Regions from separate parts of the Homo sapiens genome. Here region 2 is linked to region 1. The links are contacts of gene promoters, found by promoter capture Hi-C in blood cells and fetal thymus (Javierre and others, 2016). All regions are on one chromosome and are shown on one strand. Each heading gives the region's core, a stretch centred on a gene start or on the middle of the fragment in contact. The rest is flanking DNA. Distances are from core to core; before and after follow the strand shown. Region 1 holds the start of OGT (O-linked N-acetylglucosamine (GlcNAc) transferase). Region 2 overlaps FTX (FTX transcript, XIST regulator).

Evidence for each region. Contacts are between HindIII fragments. The CHiCAGO score rates a contact against its expected background, and 5 or more counts as called.
Region 2: a contact is called between a fragment that was not itself captured here and the fragment with the promoter of OGT in region 1, in 1 of 17 cell types (neutrophils). The highest score is 6.6, in neutrophils.

What each region holds. Positions count from the first base shown.
Region 1 is chrX:71,530,997-71,536,605 of GRCh38, reverse strand. OGT (O-linked N-acetylglucosamine (GlcNAc) transferase) reads right to left here and starts at 3,502. Exons shown (of 22, transcript NM_181672.3): 1 at 3,270-3,502; 2 at 248-428. The coding sequence starts at 3,306. RefSeq lists enhancers at 2,928-3,586, 3,412-3,751, 3,252-4,451. The HindIII fragment of the contact is 929 bases long and covers 3,149-4,077 here.
Region 2 is chrX:74,242,585-74,248,193 of GRCh38, reverse strand. All of the region lies in intron 5 of FTX (FTX transcript, XIST regulator), which reads left to right. It also overlaps the pseudogene RN7SL648P. Among named protein-coding and RNA genes, the nearest start is that of MIR374B, 27 kb to the right of the region's middle. The HindIII fragment of the contact is 8,000 bases long and covers 1-5,609 here.

The DNA of each region.
Region 1 (5,609 bases), core at 2,253-4,752:
CAGCAGACCCAGATAGAAAAATCTAGAAAAGGTCCCTAGTCATACTGATAATATAACCACCACCACAAAAGGAAGGAGAAAAACTGGCAGCTGGGCATGTCACAAGTGGGCAAGAGAGCAGATGTGCGTTGGCGGCTCAGTTGAAACCCGGTACTGGAAAAATTTCAAGTTCAAATATTTAAGTATCATTTTTCAAGCTCAGCACCCAGAGGCAGCAATCACGAGCAGGTACCCCAACATCTCCTACCTGTCCAGCCTTCGACACTGGAAGTGTATAGATGAAAGTAATAAAAGCACACCAGTATTGTCTGGCTCTTGTCTCCAGAGCTGCATGCAGTGTCTCTCAGCTGCCTCAAAATCTCCTGCCTGATATTCTCGATGTGCCAACTCAGCTAACCCTTGGAAGGAAAGCATACGTTTCGTTGGTTCTGGAGAATCATCAAAACATTTGAGGGAAGGAGGGGGGAAAACAAAAAGTTAGAAATGTAAACCAAAAAAATGTAAAAATATGGTATATTTAACTTAAAAATGGAAATGCTTGAAACTATGTAAAGCACTAGAGTGTTCTGCACGTTATGTATATCTTCAAGTTAACATCAAGTGCAGAATTGGCATTTTTAGAATTCACCCATTAATACTTTCTTTCCCAAACTAGAAAGGAATATTTACTTCCATATGAGATTACATTTTATGACCAAAAATACTTTGTACTTTTAAATTATAAATCATAGGTAGCATCTAAGGATTCACTGAACATTATTCCTTATACCTTAGTTAACATACAGAAACAAAATATTAAACGTGTGATTTGCAAGGTCACAAAGACTTAATAATATCAGAATAACATATTGGGAAACGTAATATTTTGTGCCATATTTCAGGTTGGATTTGTTGAGGTGGAGTACTGGTAACAATCTATCAATCTTAACCTCAGTGAGGACACCAGATGTGTTAATTCTTTAAATTATATCAATTTTTGTATATTTCAGAATTTAATTCTTTAAAAGGACAAGTAGAAACGAGCCTAAGGGAAAAACCAAAAAGTCAAAGTGCTATTTTTAAAACAGCTGATAAACAAGATGTTTGTCATTTGACAACAGCCAAAATAGTTAAAGGGGTCATCAAACATTTTAAATAAAGACCCAAGATTACACTGCTCCTCTACCATCCCAAACTCAAAAGGAGACTAAATTGGCTAAATCCCACCCACGTTGGTTTAGCACTAACATTTTCCAAACAGCTCTGGTATTGACTAAAGGATTAAGACATTGCAAACAAGCCTATATAAGCCAGGCAGTTACCTGCAACTGCAATGGTCAAAACGTTGGGAGGGAGGGAGGATGGACGCTAAAATATATTTGATAAAGCGCAACATAATGAATAAATAAAAGCACTTCGCTGCAAGTGACTTAATCCAGATACATAAAGATCTTTAAAGGATATAGCTAAAGCCCAGAGAGGGAAAAAAAAAAAAAAAAAACTGCTTGTCACAACTGTAAATACTTAAACTGGGAATTCGACCGTAGCACTTCACTAGCTGGTTGAAATGGGAAACCATGGACAAATTATTTAATTCTACCAAGGTTAAGGTGACTAGTTCAAATTTGAGCCCAGCTCCCCAATCATCAGAGCTGATGAGCGTTCCGGATACTGAGGAAAGCAAAGTAAATTTCCTGACAGAATGCACAGCTGACCACCAACACAAAGAGCATTGAGACTTGCATCCACATCTGGGAGAGGTTATATCTTTAATAGAAACTAAAATTACATTTTAGCTAAGTCTCTAGAACTTCCTAGCTCCTTGTTTTCACACATTACTTTGTCACTTTTCAATGCCGCTTATCTGCTATTTTAACACTTGAAACGACAGCTTTCTCAAATAAATAACACATTAAAAAGGGCAAGCTAGTACAGAATCCAGTACAGAATCTTAAACCTTTGAAAATCACGGTGGAGACGTGGGGAGAGGAGCACGGACTAATTATTAATCCCACTCCCTACAATTACGGATAAGACACTATTGACGATTCACCTACTACTTACAGCACAACTTCCAGGAACAGTAGCTAAAACCCTCCACACATCTCAACTGAGAAACAACCAAAAAATAACCTCGCGGGAAACCTCAGAAGCGCAGCCCAATTCCCCACCCCCTTCCGCCCAAATCGCCTCAATATGGAAAGGCAGCTGAAGGACACTCCTACAATTTGGTTGTTTTCGTATTTTCAGTACCAAATGCTCGCGACTGAAGTGTCTAAAAGGGCAACCGCCTTGTACTTGTGCAGCTACACTCCAGTTGCTTTACAAACTCTTCAAGCAGGGATGGAAACTTAAAAGAATATTACACCCTGTGAATAAAGAGATACTGGGCTGAAGAATGGGGATGGCAGACCCAGAGGCGGCGGCGGAGGAATACATCGAGAAAGTAACACAAAGCGAGAATTGGGCGGGCAGGGTGGTCAACGCCAAAGCAGCAGCATCGGGGTGGTTTCTCCCCCAAGGATAGGAAGTGAACAGGGCTGGCAACCTCGCGAAGGGAAGGGTGTGGTTCCCCGCGGACAGGGTGGGAAATCCAGGCTGAGGGCAGCGGTGGAATTGGGCGATGGCAAAGGAAACCCCTGGAAATTTCCAATCTAAACCGGGACCGCTCAACCGAAAGAACACCAGAAAGGCACTGCCTAGCAGGGTGCTGCTCAATGTCCCCTCTTCTCGAGGTGACTTGTGGCACCATCGACGAGCTTTTGATCGTCCTCGGGTGATGCAAAGTGAGGATATGATTACATCGGAACGGCACCCCCGCCCTAGATTGGCAGAGAAGGACCAAATCTGGCTAAGGGGAAAAGACTGGGGGGGGAGATGAAGGAGGAGATGGAGGGGAAAAAGGAGAGGCGATGAGCTGGAATTAGGGGAGAAAACCGCTGCAAAGGAGTGAAAGGGCAGGGATTCCAATGCAGTCCATTCCACGACATTCTAAGCGCGCACGTGTGATAAAAGCGCCTGGAGAGAGTGGAATGCTAGAACATTTACGAAATAAAAACAAAGCAAGAAAGGCAGCAAAAAGCAAGCAAGGGAGGAGGAGGAAATGTTCGGGAAGCGGACAACAGCGGAAAACCCGATGTGATCAGATGCCAGTAGACCACGAAAAGCTTAGCAATGTCACTGATGTAATGGGGATGGTTCGAGGGAAGGGAGGGAAGGAGTGATACAAGGTAGAGGACGGCGCGAGACCCCAAGGGGGCATCTGCCAAGGTAGAACGGGACACCGGTACCTGTGCTGTCGGCCACGTTGCCCACGGAAGACGCCATCTGGAGCTTCTCGAGGGAGAGCAAAAAAGAGGTAATTGGTCCTGCTGCCGCCACTACCAGCAAGAACGTATTTGGAGGTAGTAGTACAAGGGCAGCAGCCGTAGCAATGCTCTGGAGGGCTTGAGCGGCGGCAGCAGTTACAGGCTTCAAACCCTGGGAACTCTAATTGACCATCTACCTAGTACGGTCTTGAAATGGCGGCGACGGCTCCTCGGCCGAAACAACATGGGCCGGAACTACTTTCTGTTACAATCAAGTGCCCGCGCGGAGGTAGCCGGTAACCAGCGCCGCCAACAAAATGACTTCAAGCTGCAAAGTCGAGATTCCATGTAGTCCTCCGCGCAGCGCCCATTGCGACAAACACCACGGTGGAGACCGCGCATGCGAGCAGCCCTGTCAACCCGACTCGTGGTTAGGGCACTCTCTGGGGCGGAAGCGGCCAAGTTTCTTAAGAGTGTAGCGGAAGGGTAAAAACAAACACACACGGGACGGATACGTTTTTGCCACCGCGATTAAGAAGAGTGTTTGTTACTTAGCAGGTGGTGTCGTTTTAAACATAAATGCCAAAGGCGTCTAAAAAAGTTTATCAACTGTATTCGTACAAAAACGGATGGTTACGACTCTCACGGATCAATTCTGAGCCAGTCAATTCAGAAGATTGCCTCTCAAAGACAGCTGCTCAAAACGAGGAGCGAGAGGGTTCCGATTTGAGCCCGTCTTCATTGTGACTCGGCCATCGATTTCAGCACTTCGATGAAAAAGACTGAAGCTTTCACAGGGCCAGTTGAATGCAGACACCTTCAATGTTGGCCGTATAGCCTGAAATTTCAAAATCGTTTTGGTATTCAGAATACTCCTGCCCACGGTGATAGGGCAAATGTTTAATAACTCAGGGACATGCTGGGCGTTTGCACTCCGAAGGCAGCCATAAAAATGTTAAAGGTGATTCACGTTCGTCAAAATCCATGACTCTCCTCGAGTTGTGACTTCATTTCCACCAGCTAGCTCTGCACATTGTCACAGTCGGCGATTCCACTGAGCTCAAAGCAGATCAACAATGATAAATGAATTCACTTGCCATCTGCCTAAACCACACGTCTAGATTGAGTCATGAATTGCCTCTACTTCCTTGAACAAATCGGTTCTTACGATCTTCCTGCAGTTTCAAGTCTACTGTTCAGACATTTTGTCACATTGGTATTTATACTTCACCTCTTGTTCTAGAAACGACTTAAGGTAGCTTGCCACATCAGCAAGAAAGTATTACAAGCCACTGGAGGCTACAAGTTGGATCTCTGAGAGCCTTTTTATTTCAAAAAGTCCTTGATCTAAGAAAGCAGGTCAATGAATTTCTTCAAAAAGTTTTTGCTACCTAGCCCCTTCACTACATTTTTTAAAACTAAGTCCTCAAATTCTGCTTAAATTTCTTCAAAACAGTCAACAAACAATTAATTATGGAAATGGCACAGAGAAAATTCATAATGCTAATTTCTTCCATCCCATAATCAAGAGTCACATCATGCAGTGAAAAAGACAAAAATCACTACACAAACTCTCCTGAAAATTGAGCACCAACCTCTTGTAATTTGATTTAACTGGTAAAACCTCCCCCCCGCACACACACACCTACTACAAGTTCCCTATCTGTAATGAGTAAACTCAGCTTTTCAACTTTTAGAAGAGACTTCTCAGATTCCACTGGCAGATGTTTAGGCCTTGCTGATGAGCGGGTGCTAGCTAATTAACAAAAACTCTTTTTGTTGTTAAATGCAGGTCATGTTCCTAATTCTTCAGCCAATAAGTAACATTTACTAGAGTCTCTATGTGCAAGGCACTGTGGGGGGCACAAAAATGAACAGAAATCCTCGCCCTCAAGGAATCTGAAGCCTAGTTAGGTAGACACAAAAAGCTACTAGAGAGCAATACAGAAGACTATTTAGATGATAAAATATATTACTCTCTATGAATATCTAGGGAGGAAACAGGTAAGGTTGGAGGGGGTGAGAAAGAAGCCTTGATCTAGACATTGAAGGAAGTGCTTTTGTATGTTTTTTATTGTTGTTCACATTGATTTCTGGGTTTTTTTTATGTGCAATTTTAAATTTAGAACCAATTATAATTAAATCAGCTGGGTCTTCAACCCCAATCCCAAACTTTGTCACCCAGTAACACCACTGATGTTGCATTACTTTTTTTGCTGCTGTGTAACAAAGTATCACAAATACAGCTGCTCAGAACAACACACATTTCACAGCAGTAGCACCAGCGCTGGATGAGACCCGGGCTGGTGGCTGCTGTTGCAC
Region 2 (5,609 bases), core at 1,423-3,922, 2.7 Mb before region 1:
GTTTCCTTTTGTCACCCAGGTTGGAGTGAAGTGGCACCATCTTGGCTGGCTGCAACCTCCACCTCCTGGCCTCAAGTGATCCTCCCACCACAGCCTCCTGAGTAGCTGGGACTATAGGCGCAGGACACCATTCTCCACTAATTTTTTAATTTTTTGTAGATATGAGATTATAAGTTGTTTTAAAAAAAGTAATATGTGCAAATGGTAAATAGTACAAAATTCAATTTGTACTAAAGTTGTTTTAGTTAAAAGTCTTCTTTCTGCTTTTAGATTCCCAGTTCTCAATCTTCCTTCCTCCTTACAAGATACAAGCAACCTTCAACCTTCCCAGAGATGGTCTCTGTATATGAAAGACAATGGTCTTATTATGAAGTCGGCATATTTATAGCTTGATAAAAACTGAAAAATCTGTAGCCTATTTTTAATAGTGATATATAAGGAAATAACATAAATAAAAATTTGGCAACAAGAATCCAGGAGCAAATTTATGATCAATACACAATTGGGCAAGTGGTGTTCATACCAACCATGCAAAAATGGTTCAATTTTAGGAAATCTTTGAATATAGCTTTTAGTAGGTCAGAGGAAATCAGTATCTCAAAGTACTTTCATGATTTAGTTATTTTTAAGTTATTGATCATTTTGGATTTTATTTTGAGGTTGATAGCCATATAATGATTTCACATTTTATTTTAAATGGCTAGCTGTTGTCCCAATACTATTTACTGAAAAATCTACATTTTGCTCACTCTTTTTTTTTTTTTTTAAGAGACAGGGTTTTACCATGTTGCCCAGGCTAGATTTGAACTCCTGGGCTCAAGTGATCCTCTCGACCCAGCCTCCTGAGTATCTGTGACTGCAGGCAAGTACCCCTGTGCCTGCTCACTTATTTAAAGTTCTACACATCAAATACTAAATTCTCATCTATTTGACTTCTGGACTCACTGGTTGGTGTCATTGACTGTCTTTTCCTGTGATAGCATAGAATTATTTTGATTGTGGAAGTACTATAAATGTTGCTATTTATTGTGCCTCTTGCTGCCTATCTATATTTAGACTCATTTATGTGATGCCATTCTGTATACTCTAAATTTTTTGGTTCTATTTTAATAATGTTTGAGTCAATGACTTTTCATGACTCTTGACTTCCCTACTTCAACAGTTTACTAGTCTCCATCTTGAATGTTTTTATTAATCTATTTTGTGTTAATTCTACCCAGGTTTTTTGTTTTTCCTTGCTACTATTATATATATTTCTGCCAGATGTCACATGGTATAAATGCCTATATGGACTTTTGTAACAGAAAATTTACTTACTAGAATTAATGTAGGGGGCTTTTTAATAAGAGTGCATGTAACATAGTAACAGTAGCAGAGCTATATCAGAAACAGTTCTGATAATATTTCATGATCTATAGTTTGTTGCATGCCCATTGCTTCATACTGCTTGTGTTCTTGGTTGAGTCATAAGTAATTTTTATGGGGTGTGTCATGACTGTCATATTCATAGAGAGTTGTCTGCCTTGCCCCATGGTCTTTGCATGGCTTAAACAGGACCCCTTTTCATACACAAGTCATTCAATTTTATGTTTTTAATAGCATCAATTTTAGTGTTTAACATGTGTCTCTGGACTATGCATCAGAATACTTGACTGTTAGTGTGAAATGAAAATTCATGGATATCATAATTTATGTAACATAATTTAACATTTCTTTATTAATAAGACTTTAGATTGTCCCTTTCACAAAAAAATGGTGCGGTTAAAACTTAATCCTTGTGTCTTTTTGTGAGTAGTTCTATGATTTCTATATGATGGCATCCTTGAAAAAGTTGGTAAAAATAAGAATAGTTCTTATTTATTAAAGTTCTTCTCAAATTGCTCTTCCAAAACATTTTAGTTTATACTGCAATGTTAACCATTTTACACTTGCTTAAGTAATTTTCTTCAAATACACACGAGTCCAGGCTATTTAACCTTATTTTACCGCTATAGCACAAAACAGGTTTTCCAAAATTGTCCTTGCACACCTGGGATTTTACAAGGATATTATAATCTTGGTTCAGTTTGACTTACTGAATTTGTAGTAAGTATATTTTAGCACATAGAAAATTCAAAATATGTGTTAATCTGTTTATAGGGTAAATTTTTATGAGGGTGGATGTCATCCTGTTTTTTTTTTTTTTAATAAATGTTTTGTTTCAGAATGTTTTTTATTTACAGAAAAGTTACAAACATAGTACAGAGAGTTCCCAAATGCTCCACACCGAGTTTTCCCTATTGTTTTTTTTTTTTTTTTTGAGATGGAGTCTCGCTCTGTTGCCCAGGCTGGAGTGCAGTGGTGCAATTTCGGCTCACTGCAAGCTCCGCCTCCCGGGTGCACCCCATTCTCCTGCCTCAGCCTCCGGAGTAGCTGGGACTACAGGTGCCCGCCACCGTGCCCGGCTAATTTTTTGTATTTTTATTAGAGACGAGGTTTCACTGTGTTAGCCAGGATGGTCTCGATCTCCTGACCTCGTGATCCGCCCGCCTCGGCCTCCCAAAGTGCTGGGATTACAGGCCTGAGCCACCGAGCCCGACCAGTTTTCCCTATTGTTAATATCTTGAATTAGTATAGTACATTTGTCTCCTTCTCCTTTTTGCCCTTGGTAACCTCTAATCTACTTTCAGTCTCTGAATTTGCCTATTCCAAATATTTTGTATAAGTGGAATCATACAATATTTGTCCTTTTGCTTCTGGCGTATTTCACTTAGCACAATGCCTTCAAGGTTCATCCATGTTATAGCATATGTCAGAACTTTATTCTTTTTTATAGCTGAATAATATTTCATTGTGTGTATATGCCACATTTTGTTTATCATTCATTTTGTTTATGTACCATGTTTTGTTTATATACATCTATTAGTATGTATTTGTTTAGATATACAATTTGCTTGTATACCACATTTTGTTTTTCTGCTATCTAATGGATTATGCTGCTCTGGAACATTCATGTGATGCTTTTGTTAATTGCTTATACATTTTATTAAGCTAATGAGCTTGGTCATAGTAACATATAAAATCAAGAATCGTTTAACTTTTGCAATAAAAATCTTGATGTTGACTCTGAAGTAGTAAGATGCAACTTCAATGTACTGGGATTGAGGCAGCCATAGCAATATTACCACAGGTTTTCCAAAAATTAACACAAATATTTTCTATTCTAGATGTGATATCTTTGGCATCACTGTTCATTCTTTTCCTCCTTGATTAAAGTGAAACAATTACATTAAAATAGTTTTATGATTTAAAAATCATTCTTTTTTTAAGCTATTATTTTTAATGTAGGTCAGTGTGTTATGTAAATTGATGTCCACTACCTGAACATGTGATGCTTTCTCTTTTATTCCTTGGTATTTCCTCCATATTCTCTGAGGGCCTTCAGTCAATTTTTTTAAAGGAAATAATAAGTTCAAATATGTATCTATGACTTAGGGTTACAAAGAATATTTTCTTTGCCTCCAGTATACTTTGTATTAAAAAAATTATAAAAGGCCATAGGTATTCATTTTCAAATATTTGAAAAAAAAAGGCATGGCACAATTAAAGCATATGCAGAACCAACTTGGATTATTGCTATATTTCTTTCTTTCTAGTGTGTACGGATATTGATGACATTTTTAGGTGGCTCTTAACAAGAACATTTTCCTCTCTTTAGATGTGAATGCATAGAATTCTTTCATTTGGACCAGGATCGTTTTAAAACATTTCCTTTATTTTTTGATTAAATTTTTTTCCTTTTAAATATTAGGACTTAGTTTTTTATTAAATTTGAACATAATATATTTAACATACTTACGGATACATTTTTGTGGGCATATTTCTCTGACAATTTCTCTTATTACAAACCAAACTTGTTAGTGACCTGATTTTGTGTGTGTGTGTGTGTGTGTGTGTGTGTGTGTGTGCGCGCATGCGCGCGTGTTTTGCATTTCTATTCTTTGTTTTCTAGTTTCATCCCTATGCTAGGACATGGCTGTGTTCGTTTCTCTTTCACTAGATTTTTTTAATGACTGTAAGGTTATTCTACGCTTGTAATCTGCTTTTGCAGTACTTTTCCATCAAAAACAACTGTGTTACTTCTCATTTAAATATTTATTTATTTATTTTTGAGACAGGGTTTCGCTCTGTCACCCAGGCTGGAGTGCAGTGTCGTGATCTTGGCTCACTGCGGCCTCTGTCTCCTGGGTTCAAGCAATTCTCCTGCCCCAGCTTCCCGAGTAGCTGGGACTACAGGTGGACACCACCACTCCTGGCTAATTTTTGTATTTTTAGTAGGGACGGGGTTTCACCATGTTGACCAGGCTGGTCTCCAACTCCTGACCTCAAGTGATCTGCCTGCCTCAGCCTCCCAAAGTGCTGGGGGATTATAGGAATAAGCCACTATGCCCGGCCTCATTTAAATATCTCTTAATCATCTTTTACCTGTTTTTCCATTCTAAGCAGTGCATTCTTTTTTTTATAGCAGTCTTTTGATAACAATAGCTAAGAGGCCAGGCACGGTGGCTCATGCCTGTAATTCCAGCACTTTGGGAGGCTGAGGCAGGCGGATCACCTGAGGTTGAGAGTTCGAGACCAGCCTGGGCCAACATGGTGAAACCCCGTCTCTACTTAAAAAAAAAAAAAAAGAATTAGCTGGGTGTAGTGGTGCATGCATGTCATCCCAGCTACTCTGGAAGCTGAGGCATGAGAATTGCTTGAACCCAGGAGGTGGAGGTTGCAGTGAGCCAAGATCGCGCCACTGCACTCCAGACTGGGTGACAGACTAAGAGAGTCTGTCTCAAAAAAAAAACAAAAAACAAGCAAACAAAAACCTCCCAAGAGTTAACATTAACTGAGCATACATTAAATGGTAAGTGTCACACACTGTTCTATGTATGCATAGCTCAGTTTTTAACTTAGGAAGTAAATTCTAATAATATTCCTTATTTTTTTCTGATGGGGTAATTGAGGGCAGCTACTCTCAGTAACATTGAACCCGATAGCACATAGTGAAGACTCATTATCTTTATCAATGATGTGTCAGTTGGAGGTAAAAATTAGGTCCTTTTCAATATCCAGTGGTGACTGTGCTCCTAGGAAGATCAGCCAAGGATACACAGTCCGAAAAGTTTATAGCTTAGGTAGGTAGGATTAAGTGCAGTGCCTCTCTAGTACACACCTGGATGTGACTCTTGTGTCCACATGTTTTTCAAACCTGGCAGGAACAATAACCCCATTCAGAAATGACTTCTAAAAAGGCTATTTTTGCGGGCTTGCAGGCATGCACTTGTAGCCCTAGCTACTCAGGAGGGTGAGGAGGGAGGATTGCTTGATCCCAGGAATTCTGAGCTGTAGTGAGCTATGCCGATTGGATTCCTGCACTAAATTTGGCATCAATATGGTGACCTCCCGGGCACGGGGGATCACCAGGTTGCCTGAGGAGGGGTGAACCAGCCCAGGTCGGGAATGGAGCGGGTCAAAACTCCCATGATGATCAGTAGTGAGATCATGCCTGTGAATAGCCATTACACTTCAGCCTGGGCAACATAGCAAGAATCAATCTCGCTCTCTCTCTTTTTTTTTTTTTT